2 separate regions of the Homo sapiens genome follow, and region 2 is linked to region 1. Evidence: promoter capture Hi-C in human tissues and cell types (Jung and others, 2019). All regions are on one chromosome and are shown on one strand. Each heading gives the region's core, a stretch centred on a gene start or on the middle of the fragment in contact. The rest is flanking DNA. Distances are from core to core; before and after follow the strand shown.

Evidence for each region. The method cuts DNA at HindIII sites, captures the fragments that hold promoters and counts their contacts. A contact is called where the count stands out against the background at its distance.
Region 2: the fragment with the promoter of HMOX2 here is called in contact with the fragment with the promoter of SLX4 in region 1 in 2 of the 25 tissues and cell types used here (dorsolateral prefrontal cortex and lymphoblastoid cells).

The regions. Positions count from the first base shown.
Region 1 is chr16:3,608,545-3,615,002 of GRCh38, forward strand. It overlaps SLX4 (SLX4 structure-specific endonuclease subunit), which reads right to left and starts at 3,062. Exons shown (of 15, transcript NM_032444.4): 1 at 3,016-3,062; 2 at 1-1,022. The coding sequence starts at 420. It also overlaps a transcript of DNASE1 not described here. RefSeq lists a silencer at 2,920-3,269 and an enhancer at 3,310-3,379. The HindIII fragment of the contact is 5,274 bases long and covers 89-5,362 here.
Region 2 is chr16:4,475,140-4,480,861 of GRCh38, forward strand. HMOX2 (heme oxygenase 2) reads left to right here and starts at 1,259. Exons shown (of 6, transcript NM_002134.4): 1 at 1,259-1,348. It overlaps LOC124903636 (a long non-coding RNA gene), which reads right to left. Exons shown (of 3, transcript XR_007064964.1): 3 at 4,125-4,422. It also overlaps a transcript of NMRAL1 not described here. RefSeq lists an enhancer at 1,055-1,556. The HindIII fragment of the contact is 17,527 bases long and covers 1-5,407 here.

The sequences.
Region 1 (6,458 bases), core at 1,812-4,311:
CTCCCCATTCACAGAGTGGGCCGGTTCACTTGCTTGCCATTTGGTTACCCTTTGCTTTTTAGTCCTAGGGGCCTGGCTGCCAGACGGAGGTTTCTTCTCTGCAGGGCCTTGAAGGGTTTTGGTCTTGGTAGCAGTTTGTTTGGTCCTTTTCAATTTGCTTCTTATCTGAGTGCCGTTTGAGGCAGCCTTTTGTGTCTTCCTTTCTCCTGACACTTCCTTGATTCCATGTTTTTTCACCCTTTGGAAAAAGCTAGCGCAGAGTTCTTTAAAGTCCTCATCAGACTCATCCATCATCTGACCAGTTTTAAGGCTTTCAGGCTGGTCTTCAGAGGAGCGAGGGTCAATCCCAGGACAGGCAGACAGATGAGAAAGTGAACCCAAGTAGAAGCCTAGCTGAGCCTCATTCACACTCAGTTTCATTAGGGTTCTTCTCTACTTCTCCATTAGATACTTGGAGAGTTTGCACAATTGAACAAAAAGTACTGTTTTCCTCTCTATAATGATTGAAGTATCTTTGTTCAAATTGGGCCTGTGGTTAAACATGTTTAAAGCTTCCCTCTGTTAAAGTCCACAACTGGGCCGGGCGCGGTGGCTCACACTTGTAATCCCAGCTCTTTTGGAGGACGAGGCGGGGGGTGGATCACCTGAGGTCAGAAGTTCGAGACCAGCCTGGCCAATATGGTGAAACCTCGTTTCAACTGAAAATACAAAAAATTGGCCAGGCGTGGTAGCAGATGCCTGTAATCCCAGCTACTCGGGAGGCAGAGGCAAGAGAATCGCTTGAACCTGGGAGGCGGAGATTGCAGTGAGCCGAGATCGTGCCACTGCACTCTAACCTGGGCAACAAGAGCAAAACTCTGTCTCAAAAAATAATAATAATAAATAAATAAAGTTCACAACTGAAAGAGTGTTTTGTTGTCCAATAGATGCCTCTGAGATCGAATACATATGAACCTGGTGCTCAGATAATTCTCCAAGATCTCCATGATGATGAAACATATATGGTTCACTTAATTACACATCTGTGGAAAACCAAAAGCATGTAAGTGTAATCAGACATTGTCATTTTATGCCAGTTCTTCCAGGGAGGGACAAGGGCATGTGGGGTGAGGGAAAAGTCTTCGGAGTAACAATACTGTCAAATACTCAGTCCAGCCTGGTTAACATGGTCTAACCGTCCTATCAGACATCACAACAAAAGGACCTAGAAACCTGTCAAAGCATGTTGTTCTTCCACAGGTATTAAAATATGTGCATCTTGGGAGAGTGTTTTCTTAACTGAAATTTAGGGAGCAAACCCCATAAAAGGCAGTCACCACAGAAACAGGATGATCCCCAAATCTAGGAAAACTATCTCCTACACTGATCTAAGACCCCTGGCTGTTAAAGAGGCTCTTTCTGTAAATACTGCAACATAAGAGACAGAAAGAGACATTATATTCTCATGAACACTCAGGAGAGAAAAGGTCACTTTTACTTATCTTCTCAACCCAGCAAGGCTCTCCAAACCTGGATGACTGGAATGTCGCCTGTGTGCAAAGGCTGGGCCTCGTGAGCATGGTTGTTTACTTTGGCACACAGCTAAGTGGGGTTCAAAAATCAAAACTGAATGACCCAATGGCAGAAAGTTATTCCTTTCAAATACAATAATGCAATCTCCACTGTCCAAGGAATCTAATTAATCATTTTGTTTTCCAGAGCTGAAAATACTCCTACCTAGAATCTACTTTGTATGGCTGGCGCATTCTCTTCTGTGTCTTCCCCTTAGAGAAGTGTCCTCTAATCCTTTATGGACCGTCTCCATCCCCGTTAATCCCTATCATCGCCCACTGTTTTCACAATGGCATCTGTCATAGGTTATCATCATATGAAACAGGTAATATCTATCGAATGCTTACTGTGTGCCAAGCACTGTTCCAATTGCTTTCCAAGTCAAACTCGTTTAATCCTTACAAGAAGCCTATATGGTGGAATCTCTTGTCATCCTGTCTTTACGGCAAGGAAACACGCGCAAGCAGAATGAGGAACTGGCCTAAAGCCAGTTCAGGAACAGCTTTCACAGTGGCAGGGCTGGGATCAAACCCAGGAAGTGTGGTTCGAAACTATCCGCTCTTGTGTTTTTATTCATCGGCTTATTATCTGTCCCCCATTAAGCTCAACACTTCAGGAGGGTAGAGATCCATCTATTACTTTGCAACCTCTTTGGCTGATCTGGTGCCTGACTTGAAATAAGTGCTCCACAACTACTTGTTGAATTCATGAATTGCAAAGAGTTCGGTATAATGGGAGTAGAGAGAAAGGTGTAGGAGAAAACGCTGCGGGGAGAGGAAAGGATTGGCTCACAAGGGCCTGGAAGGTCAGGCTAGGCAAAGTGAATTTTATCCTGTTGGATGCGGGGAGCGGCTGGAACAAATTCCACCTCCACAACTGTGTTGATCTCCGCATCTCTGTTGATATGAACCTCACAACAGTCTATCTCCTCCTATAGGTGCCCAGTCAAGATTTACTGAATGACATAACGGATCCTGCAAGCCTGCAGGTTTCCAGAGGGAAGGGGACTTGTGCCTCCTTGCTTCGTACCTACCGCAGCCCACGGCTCACAGCAGGCGAGGGATGAATGAATGGATCGGTAAGGGGCGGACCCTCCCGCTTCCCCCAACCCGGCGACCTACGGAAAGGGGCTGAGGGGTTCCCCGTCTGGGAAAAGGGCTGCCAAAGACTCTAACGGCTCTAAAGTCAGACGGAGAACCCCGATCCCCGGACTGGCCCGGACGGAGACCACCGTGGGGATCCGGATCCGCCACCCTCCTCCCTCCAGGCGGGCCCCGGCCCCTCTCCACCCGAGTGCGGCTCCTGCCTCTCCGTCGGGGCTGCGGGCCTGCCGAGGCCACGGAGCCAGCGAGGGAGACGGGCGAGAAAGGCTCTTCTCCCTTAGGAAAGAGAGAACGGCCCGAAATGACAGGACCTCCGCCTCCCGGGTGCCGACTCCCAGCCCCACAGCCCGGCTCCTCCTACCTCCGGCGCCGCCGCGGCACCTTCTTAACGGAGACTCGCGCGCCTGCGCATGCGCCGCCCGCGCCCCCGCGGAGCATTGCCTGCGCGCAGGCGCAGAGCGGGCGCGCGCGGTGGTGCGGCAGCCTCGCTTCCGGTCTTCCTCTGCGGCGCCGGGCGCGGGCCCGCGGCGGCCAGCGCTTCCGGTCGGCAGGAGGCGGGGCGAGGCGGAAGCGGCGCTTGCTTCAGGTGGAGTCTGTTAGTTTTTGAGAAAGAGTTAGGGCGAGTTTAAGGCACTGTGGCAGCTGTGAGATAAAGTCTGGTTCCTCCCCAGCTGGCTCAGGAAATGTTCGCGGATACAACGGCGGCCCCCTCTGGGCATACCTGCCTGTGGAGCGGAGAGTGGACGGTGTGAGGGGGACCGGGAGAGGCACCAAATCTGGCCTGGGGGCCCGAGAAGCTTCCTCTCAGGTGGGGTGGCGTGAGAGTCGAGGCCTGGAGGTCGGGGAGGGTTAGCTACGTGAAGAGGGGATTCTGCCGCGCTTCAGGTGCCTGGAGGGGATGCCCGAGCTCTTCCGCAGGGCTAGGGTGAAGCCAGCCAGGGCCTGGGGGAAAGGTAGCAGAGGTTTGCCATGGCTTGGTATTTGAGGGACTTTACACATCGTATTAAGGGTTTGAGCTTCAACTTGGGGTCGTCGGGAGCCATTGAAGGTTTTTTGTTGTTTGTTTTTTGAGACGGGGTTTTGCTCTTGTTGCCCAGGCTGGGGTGCAGTGGCGCGATCTCGGCTCACTGCAACCTCTGTCTCCCGGGTTCGAGCGGTTCTTGTGCCTCACCTTCCCAAGTAGCTGGGATTACAGGCGCCAGTCACCACGCCCAGCTAATTTTTGTGTTTTTAGTAGAGACTAGGTTTCACTCTGTTGCCCAGGCTGGTCTCCAACTCCTGACCTCAGGTGATCCGCCCGCCTCGGCCTCCCAAAGTGGTGGGATTACAGGCGTGAGCCACCGCTCACGGCTTTTTTTTTTTTTTTTTTTAAGTAGAGACGGGCGGTGGGGGCGGGGGGGGGAGTCTCACTATGTTGCCCAGGCTGGTCTCGAGCCCTGGCCGCAAGAGATCCTCCCGCCTCGGCCTCCCAAAGCGCTGAGATTACAGGCGTGAGCCACCACGCCCGGCGTAAGATTTTGTTTTTAAAGGCCTAATTACAGTGAGAACAGATGAGGCAAGGACACCCATTAGGAGGCTATTACATAATCTAGATGAAAAGTGAGAGCGGCCCGAATTAGGAGGTGGAGCGAAAAGAATGGAGAAATATGGAGCATAGTCAAGACGCAGTTGTTAACGATTTGCCGGTTTCTGGCCTTAACATCTGAGAGTAGTGTGCCTCCAGTCACTGAAATAATGAACACAGGAGAGGTGTAAAGGAATCAGTTTGCAGGGCAGACAATATGTTTTTTAAAAGATACAGTATCATAAAATGCACACTAGAAGTGTACATTCAGTGGTTTCCAGTACGTTCACAGGATTTGCAGCCATCGTCGCTAATTCCAGAACGTTTTAAAACCCCAAATCGAACCTGCCGTACCCATTCGTAGTCACTCCGCAATTCCCCCGACCCCATCCCCTGGCAATCACTTATCGGCTTTCTGTCTCTGTGGTTTTGCGTATTCAGTACATTTTATGTAAATGGGATCATGTGATACTTGGCTTTTTCTGCTGGGCTTTTATTAAGCATGTTTTCAAGATTTCATCCATGTAGATGAATCAGTACTGCATGCCTTTTCATGGCTGCATAATCACGTGTTTGGATGGACCATGTTTTGTTTATCCATGTATCAGGTGATGGGCATATGGATGTTTTTACTTTTTGGCTGTTAGAAATAATGCTGCTATGAACATTCGTGTTCATAACACAAGTTTTTGTGTTCTAGGAGTGGAATTACTGGGTAAGACTACATTTGATTCTGAATGTTGAGCTTCAAAACCTTCCAAGAGGTTTTCCTTGATGAAGGATTTAGGAGGTGTTTACTTGCTCTCTGGCTTGGAAATCTAAGTTAGTTTGTAATATGGTTTCCAACTGGATAAAGAAGACAGAACAAGAATGATAAGCAGCCCAGAGGCAAGGGTAGGGCAGGGTGTCTTGGGACTTGAATTTATAGAGGAGACTGAGTGACGACATGGAGAGGCCAGTGCTGTTGAAATAATTTCTCTTTCCTTCCTTCCCTTCCTTGCTTCGTTTTCGACGGAGTTTGGCTCTTGTTGCCCAGGCTGGAGCGCAGTGGTGTGTGCAACCTCCACTTCCCTGGTTCAAGCGATTCTCCTGCCTCAGCCTCCGGAGTAGCTGGGATTACAGGCGCCCGCAACCGCGCCTGGCTAATTTTTTTTTTTTTTTTTTTTTTTGGACAAAATCTCGCTCTGTTGCCCAGGCTGGAATGCAGTGGTGTGATCTCGGCTCACTGCAAGCTCTGCTTCCCGGGTTCACGCCATTCTCCTGCCGCAGTCTCCCGAATACCTGGGACTACAGGCGCCCGCCACCACACCTGGCTAATTTTTTGTATTTTTAGTAGAGACGGGGTTTCACCATATTAGCCAGGATGGTCTCGATTTCCTGACCTCGTGATCTGCCCGCCTTGGCCTCCCAGAGTGCTGGGATTACAGGTGTGAGCCACCGCGCCCGGCGTAATTTTTTGTATTTCTAGTAGAGACGGGGTTTCACCATGTTGGCCAGGCTGGTCTCAAACTCCTGACATCAGGCGGGCGATCTTCCTGCCTGGACCTCCCAAAGGGCTGGGATTACTGGTGTGAGCCACCGCGCCTGGCCTGAAATAATTTACTTACATTTCTCAAGAAAAGGAGGCGTGCCACCACGTTCAGAGCCACAAGGGAGACATCAGCTTTTGGTTAGGAGGAAGAAATAGGAACAAGGAGAAAGTCTAGGCCAGAACCTTTATGGGGTTCCTCAGAAATAGCAAGTCAGGGCGGAGTAAACATTTTAGGATTGGATAATTTAAATAATTCCATCACGCTTTGCCTTTGGGTGGTCTCTAGTTGCTTGGTACCTGGCCATGGATGATTTAGGGCAGGAGAAATACTGGCTTGGTGTGTGAGAGTTAGATAAAGGGGGGAGGCTGACTTGCCTGTGAGAGGCATGCTCCCAAGTAAGTTGTTTACTGTCTTGAGGAATTAGACCTGGGAGAGGCAGTCTCCCTGCCAGCAAGATTTATTAAGATTTCAAAATATCATAGGATACAGAAAATTTTTTTAAACATCTAATAAACATGGACATGGCTGGGTTATGAAGGATAATTGTAATGGTAGAAATTACTGTTTTCCAGTCAGACTGAAAATGAAGTGCCTGTTTCCTATTTAGGATTTAAATCTCTTAGAGTCCTGGTGAAGAAAGTCTTTGCTACCTCTCTCCCCCAACCCCAAATCTGGCTATATTATTTATTTACATAAAATAAATTAGTT
Region 2 (5,722 bases), core at 9-2,508, 860 kb after region 1:
ACGGGGTTTCACCAGGTTGACCAGGCAGGTCTCGAACTCCTGACTTAAAGTGATCCACCCACCTCAGCCTCCCAAAGTGCTGGGAGTACAGGTGGGAGCCACCGTGCCCAGCCCTAACTCACTTCTGAAGTTGCTGCTACTTGCACTGATTTCAGTTTTTTTTTGTTTTTGTTTTTTGTTTTCAAGGTGGAGTCTTGCTCTGTGGCCCAGGCTGGAGTGCAGTGGTGGTGCGATCTTGGCTCACTGCAACTTCCGCCTCTTGGGTTCAAGTGATTCTCCTGCCTCAGTTTCCTGAGTAGCTGGGATTACAGGCAGGAGCCACCATGCCCGGCTAAAATTTTTTTGTATTTTTGGTAGAGACGGGGTTTCAACATGCTGGCCAGGCTGGTCTCGAACTGCTGACCTCAAGTGATCTTCCCGCCTCAGGCTCCCAAAGTGCTGGGATTACAGACATGAGCCACCACACCCGGCCCACGATTTCAGTAATTTCTTTGTGTTCAGTAAAACTAAAAAATGACTCTGGGCTGGGTGCGGTGGCCTGTAATTGCAGTGATTTGGGAGGCCGAGGCGGGTGGATCACCTGAGCTCAGGAGTTCGAGACCAGCCTGGCCAACATGGTGAAACCCCCGTCTCTACTAAAAATACAAAAATTAGCCGGGCGTGGTGGCAGGCGCTTGTAATCCCAGCTATTCGGGAGGTTAAGGCAGGAGAATCGCTTGAACCCGGGAGAAGGGGGTTGCAGTGAGCCGAGATCACGTCATTGCACTCCAGCCTGGGCGACGAGCAAAACTCGGTCTCAAAAAAAGAAAAATCATTCTGTCATTCTGGCCGCTGTTTGAAGAATGCGAATAATGCAACAGGGAGATCAGATACAAGACTGGTAACCGAGGTGTCAGAGTTGAGACTCAGTTTCGCAGATTGCATTGGCAAGTGACCAAGTGGGTGGTGCCACGGTTGACAACCCTATTTCTTACATCACTGAGTGGATGTACAAGGATTAAACCACACTGGGGAAGAAAAGTGCTCAACCCTGAGGCACCCTCACACACCTCGGCTCTTGTGAACACTAGTGTTCCTGCCGAAGCACGCCTACTTACCCCGCTGAGCAGAGCCTGAGCCTGCAACCTCCAGAGACCTGGGGAAAGCCACATACTCCGCTTCCCGCCCCCGGCAAGGGCGTGTCAGCTACAAGGGGCGTGTCATCTCTAGGCCCCGCCCCGCGCTGCGTGCCCACGTTGCGCCGGCCTCGCGCCAGTCCGCTGGGCTGCAGGGACTGCGGCGCCTGAGGGAGTCGCTGACGGGCACGCTGACTGGAGGCTGGCGGACAGGCGACAGCGACCTGCGGCAGGTGAGCTGTCCGCGCCCTCCCGGGGCCTTCCTTCCGCCCGGCTTCTCGGACCGCGCTGCGTCCTTCGCGGGCCCTGCCTCGGTCCAGGCCTTCGGACCTGGGCTTGGCCGGGCCACAGCCCTTTGGGTCCCCTGCGCCGGTCTGAGGGGAGACCCGGCCGGGGGCGGCCGGAAGCTGGGTGAGGCCGGGCAGAAGGACGAAGAAGGGCGTGGAGGGGCTGTCAGGGGAGGGCGAAACCGCGGACGCCGCTCTCCAGAAGTCGTCTCCCCGGGGGCGCGGGGAGGCCTGAATGGCTCTCTTTGGCGTCCCCGTTGGGCCCACCCTCTCCCAGCGTCACGGCTATGCTGGGCGAGGTGACCCCCGGGGTCGTAGCTGGGGGCGTCGGCGGTGCAGACAGGGGATGCCGGCAGAGATTGGAGCCCGGCTTGGCTGTTTCCCGGGCTGTTGGCATTGACCGGGGCTCTGCCCTTCCTCTAATGCCCTTATCTCTATAGGAAGTGCCCCTTGAGTGGGTGTCGTGACTTCACGAGTGAACCCTGGTACGCCCTGGAGCAGAGTCGGACTGGGAGGGATCAAGTGTGGGGGCAGCCGGTTAGTCCGGACGCGGGTTTACCTATTACTTTCTGAGCGCAGTGCTCTGGGTGGATTAATTGCCCTGCAAAAGCTGCCGGGACCTCCTTGCAGTCTTTGCACGAGGCCTGCCTGTGTCATGCCATTTAAATCGCGTCTGGGCCGGGTCGGTGGCTCACGCCTGTAATTCCAGCACTTTGGGAGGCCAGGGCGGGCGGATTGCTTGAGGTCAGGAGTCCGAGACCAGCCTGGCCAACATAGTGAAACCCCGTCTCTACTAAAAATACAAAAATCAGCCGGGCATGGTAACGTGAGCCTGTAGCTCCAGCTACTTAGGAGGCTGAGGCAGGAGAATCGCTTGAACCCGGGAGGCAGAGGTTGCAGTGAGCCGAGATCACGCCATTGCACTCCAGCCTGGGCGACAGAGCAAGACTCCATCTAAAAAAAAAAAAAAAAAAAAAAAAAATCGCTTCTGATGAGCCGGTTGTCGTGGCCTGTGGCTGTCCATCCTTACGTACTGTGTTTTGTTGATGGCGCTACAAACCAGACAAGGTGGAGTGTGATTGAAGAAAGAAACGCTGGCCGGTGCAGTGGCTCACTCCTGTAATCCCAGCACTTTGGGAGGCCGAGGCAGGCGGATCACCTGAGGTCAGGAGTTCGAGATCAGCCTGGCCAACATGGTGAAACCCCGTCTCTACTAAAAATACAAAAAAGTTAAACGGGCGGGGTGGCGCGTGTCTGTAATCCCAGCTACTGGGGAGTTTGAGGTTGGAGGATCACTTGAGCCCACGAAGTGGAGATTGCAGTGAGCTGAGATCGCATCACTGCACTCCAGCCTGGGTGACAGAGTGAGACCCTGTCTCAAAAAAGAAAAAAATAAATTATCACAAGACAAAATTTGTGCTTATCAGGAGTTCACAGTTAAGACATATATAAGCTTACTTGGTGAAATTAGAAAAAGTTATCAGATAAAACATTCAGGTTTAAACACTGGTGAGGGTGTGGGAATTTGTGGAGCCTTGGAAACACACTCATTGAATGACCTCATCTACCTGGGGATGTGAAGAGGGAAATCCTGTGATTCCTCCATTGTCTGACTTGATTTCCTTTTTTCCTTGGCTGTGGCAACATGTTGAAGTGCTGTGAGTCACCAAAAGGGGGAACGTGAGCAACTCTAGAAATGCCAGTGCCAGTGAGTTACAGACAATAAAGCATTGACCGCCTTTAGCTCACCCCTCATCAAGTCTGTTGAAAACTTGTAAAATTGGACAGCTAGAGCTACCTTGATTTTTTGGTTTCCTTTTAACAGCTGACTCTCTTCACAGGACAGTTGGGCTCTACATCAGGATTGCACCCAAAACTGGAATATCACTCCTCCAGGAGGAAGATATATTTGAAAATTAGAATTGTGGGCCCGGTGCAGTGGCTCATGCTTGTGATCCCAGCACTTTGGGAGGCCGAGATGGGCGGATCACCTGAGGTCGGGAGATAGAGACCAGCCTGACCAACATGGAAAAACCCCATCTCTACTAAGAAAAAAATAATAATAATACAAAAATTAGCTGGGCATGGTGGTGTGTGCCTGTAATCCGAGCTACTTGGGAGGCCGAGGCAGGAGAATCACTTGAACCTGGGAGGCAGAGGTTGCGATGAGCCAAGATTGTGCCACTGCATTCCAGCCTGGGCAACAGGAGCAAAACTGCATCTCAAAAAAAAAAAAAAGAAAGAAAGAAAATTAGAATTGTGTATTTCACTGTAAAATTTGAAATTCAGCTTTAACTCCTTGGAAAGGAAAGAGATGAAAAACTTGACCTAGACTGGGTGCGGTGGCTCACGCCTGTAATCCCAGCACTTTGGGAGACCAAGGCGGGTGGATCACCTGAGGTCAGGAGTTCGAGACCAGCCTGGCTAACATTGTGAAACCCCGTCTCTACTAAAAATACAAAAATTAGCCTTGCAAAAAGTAGCCTGTAATCCCAGCTACTCGGGAGGCTGAGCAAGGAGAATTGCTTGAACCTGGGAGGCAGAGGTTTCAGTGAGCCAAGATCATGCCATTGCACTCCAGCCTGGGCGACAAGAGCAAAACTTCATCTCAAAGAAAAAAAAATTCTATCAGAGTGAACAATAAGTAGGATGCTAGCACATACCTGTAATCTCAGCTACTTGGGAGGCTGAGGCAGGAAGTTAATACTTGATGAGCCTAAGTTTTTGGTGTCTTTGGATGCTGCTTGTCGATCTAAGGGGTTTCCAAACGCTTCTTTTTTGGTAAAATTGGGATTATGACTAGGAATCTGTTTTTTGGAGTTTCCCAGGTGATCCTTGTTTGGGGTCCTTGTCTAAGGCACAGGCTGGAAAGAGGAGGGAGTGGACTGGCAGGGAAGATAGAGCAGTAAGCGAATAGAATACCTGGGGAAAGGGACGCCAGAAGAGTGATTGTTGTCTGGTGAACTGTGCTGTCAGTGTGTATGTCAGAAGCCAACAAAGTGGATATTCTCTTCACTCAGCTTAGGGAAAAAATTAATTTTTGTTTCACAGATAGATTCGTTTCCTTCCCAGGAGTATTATAGGCCTAATTACTGTCATAGTTCTCAGTAACTTTAAAAAGGCTGTGGGGAAGAATGGCATAACAGACTAGTATCTTGTACCCAGCCTGCCTTTTTCTTATTCTATTTTTTTTTTTTTTTTTTTTTTTTTTTTTTTTGAGACAGTCTTGCTCTGTCACCCAGGCTGGAGTGTGGTGGCACAATCTCAGCTCACTGCAACCTCCGCCTCCTGGGTTCAAGCGATTCTCCAGCCTCAGTCTCCTGAGTAGCTGGGATTACAGGCGTATGCCACCATGCCTGGCTAATTTTTGTATTTTTAGTAGAGATGAGGTTTCACTATGTTGGCCGGGCTGGTCTCCTACTCCTGACCTCAGGTGATCCGTCCACCTTGGCCTCCCAAAGTGCTGGGGTTATAGGCATGAGTCGCTGCGCCCGGCTTTTTTATTTTTTATTTTTTATTTTTTTGAAACAGAGTCTGGCTCTTTCACCCAGGCTGGAGTACAGTGATCTGATCTGAGCTCACTGCAATCTCTGCCTCTGGGGTTCAAGCAGTTCTCCTGCCTCAGCCTTCCAAGTAACTGGGACTACAGGCATGCACCACCATGCCTGGCTAATTTTTGTACTTTTGGTAGAGATGGGGTTTCGCCATGTTGGCCACGCTGGTCTCCAGCTCCTGACCTCAAGCGAACCACCCTCCTTGGCCTCCCAAAGTGCTAGTATTACAGGCGTGAGCCACAGCACCCGGCCTTTTTTTTTTTTTTTTCCTTAGAGTCTTGCTCTGTCACCAGGGCTGGAGTGCAGTGGCGCCGTCTCGGCTCACTGCAACCTCTGCCTCCTGGGTTCAAGTGATTCTCCTTCCTCAGCCTCCCTAGTAGCTGGGATTACAGGTGTGTGCCACCACACCCAGTTAATTTTTGTATTTTTAGTAGAGACGGGGTTTCACCATGCTGGCCAGGCTGGTCTCAAACTCCTGACCTCAAGTGGTCCACCCACTTTGGCCTCCCAATTAGAATTAGAGGTGGAGCGACCGTGCCCGGCTAAGGGCCTACTATTTTTTTTTTTTTTTTTTGAGACAGAGTTTCACTCTTGTCACCCAGGCTGGAGTGCAGTGGTGTGACCTTGGTTCACTGCAACTTCCACCTCCCAGGTTTAAGCGATTCTCCTGCCTCAGCCTCTGGAGAAGCTGGGATTATAGGCGTCTGCCACCACGCCTGGCTAATTTTTTGTATTTTTAGTAGAGACGGGGTTTCACCATGTTAGT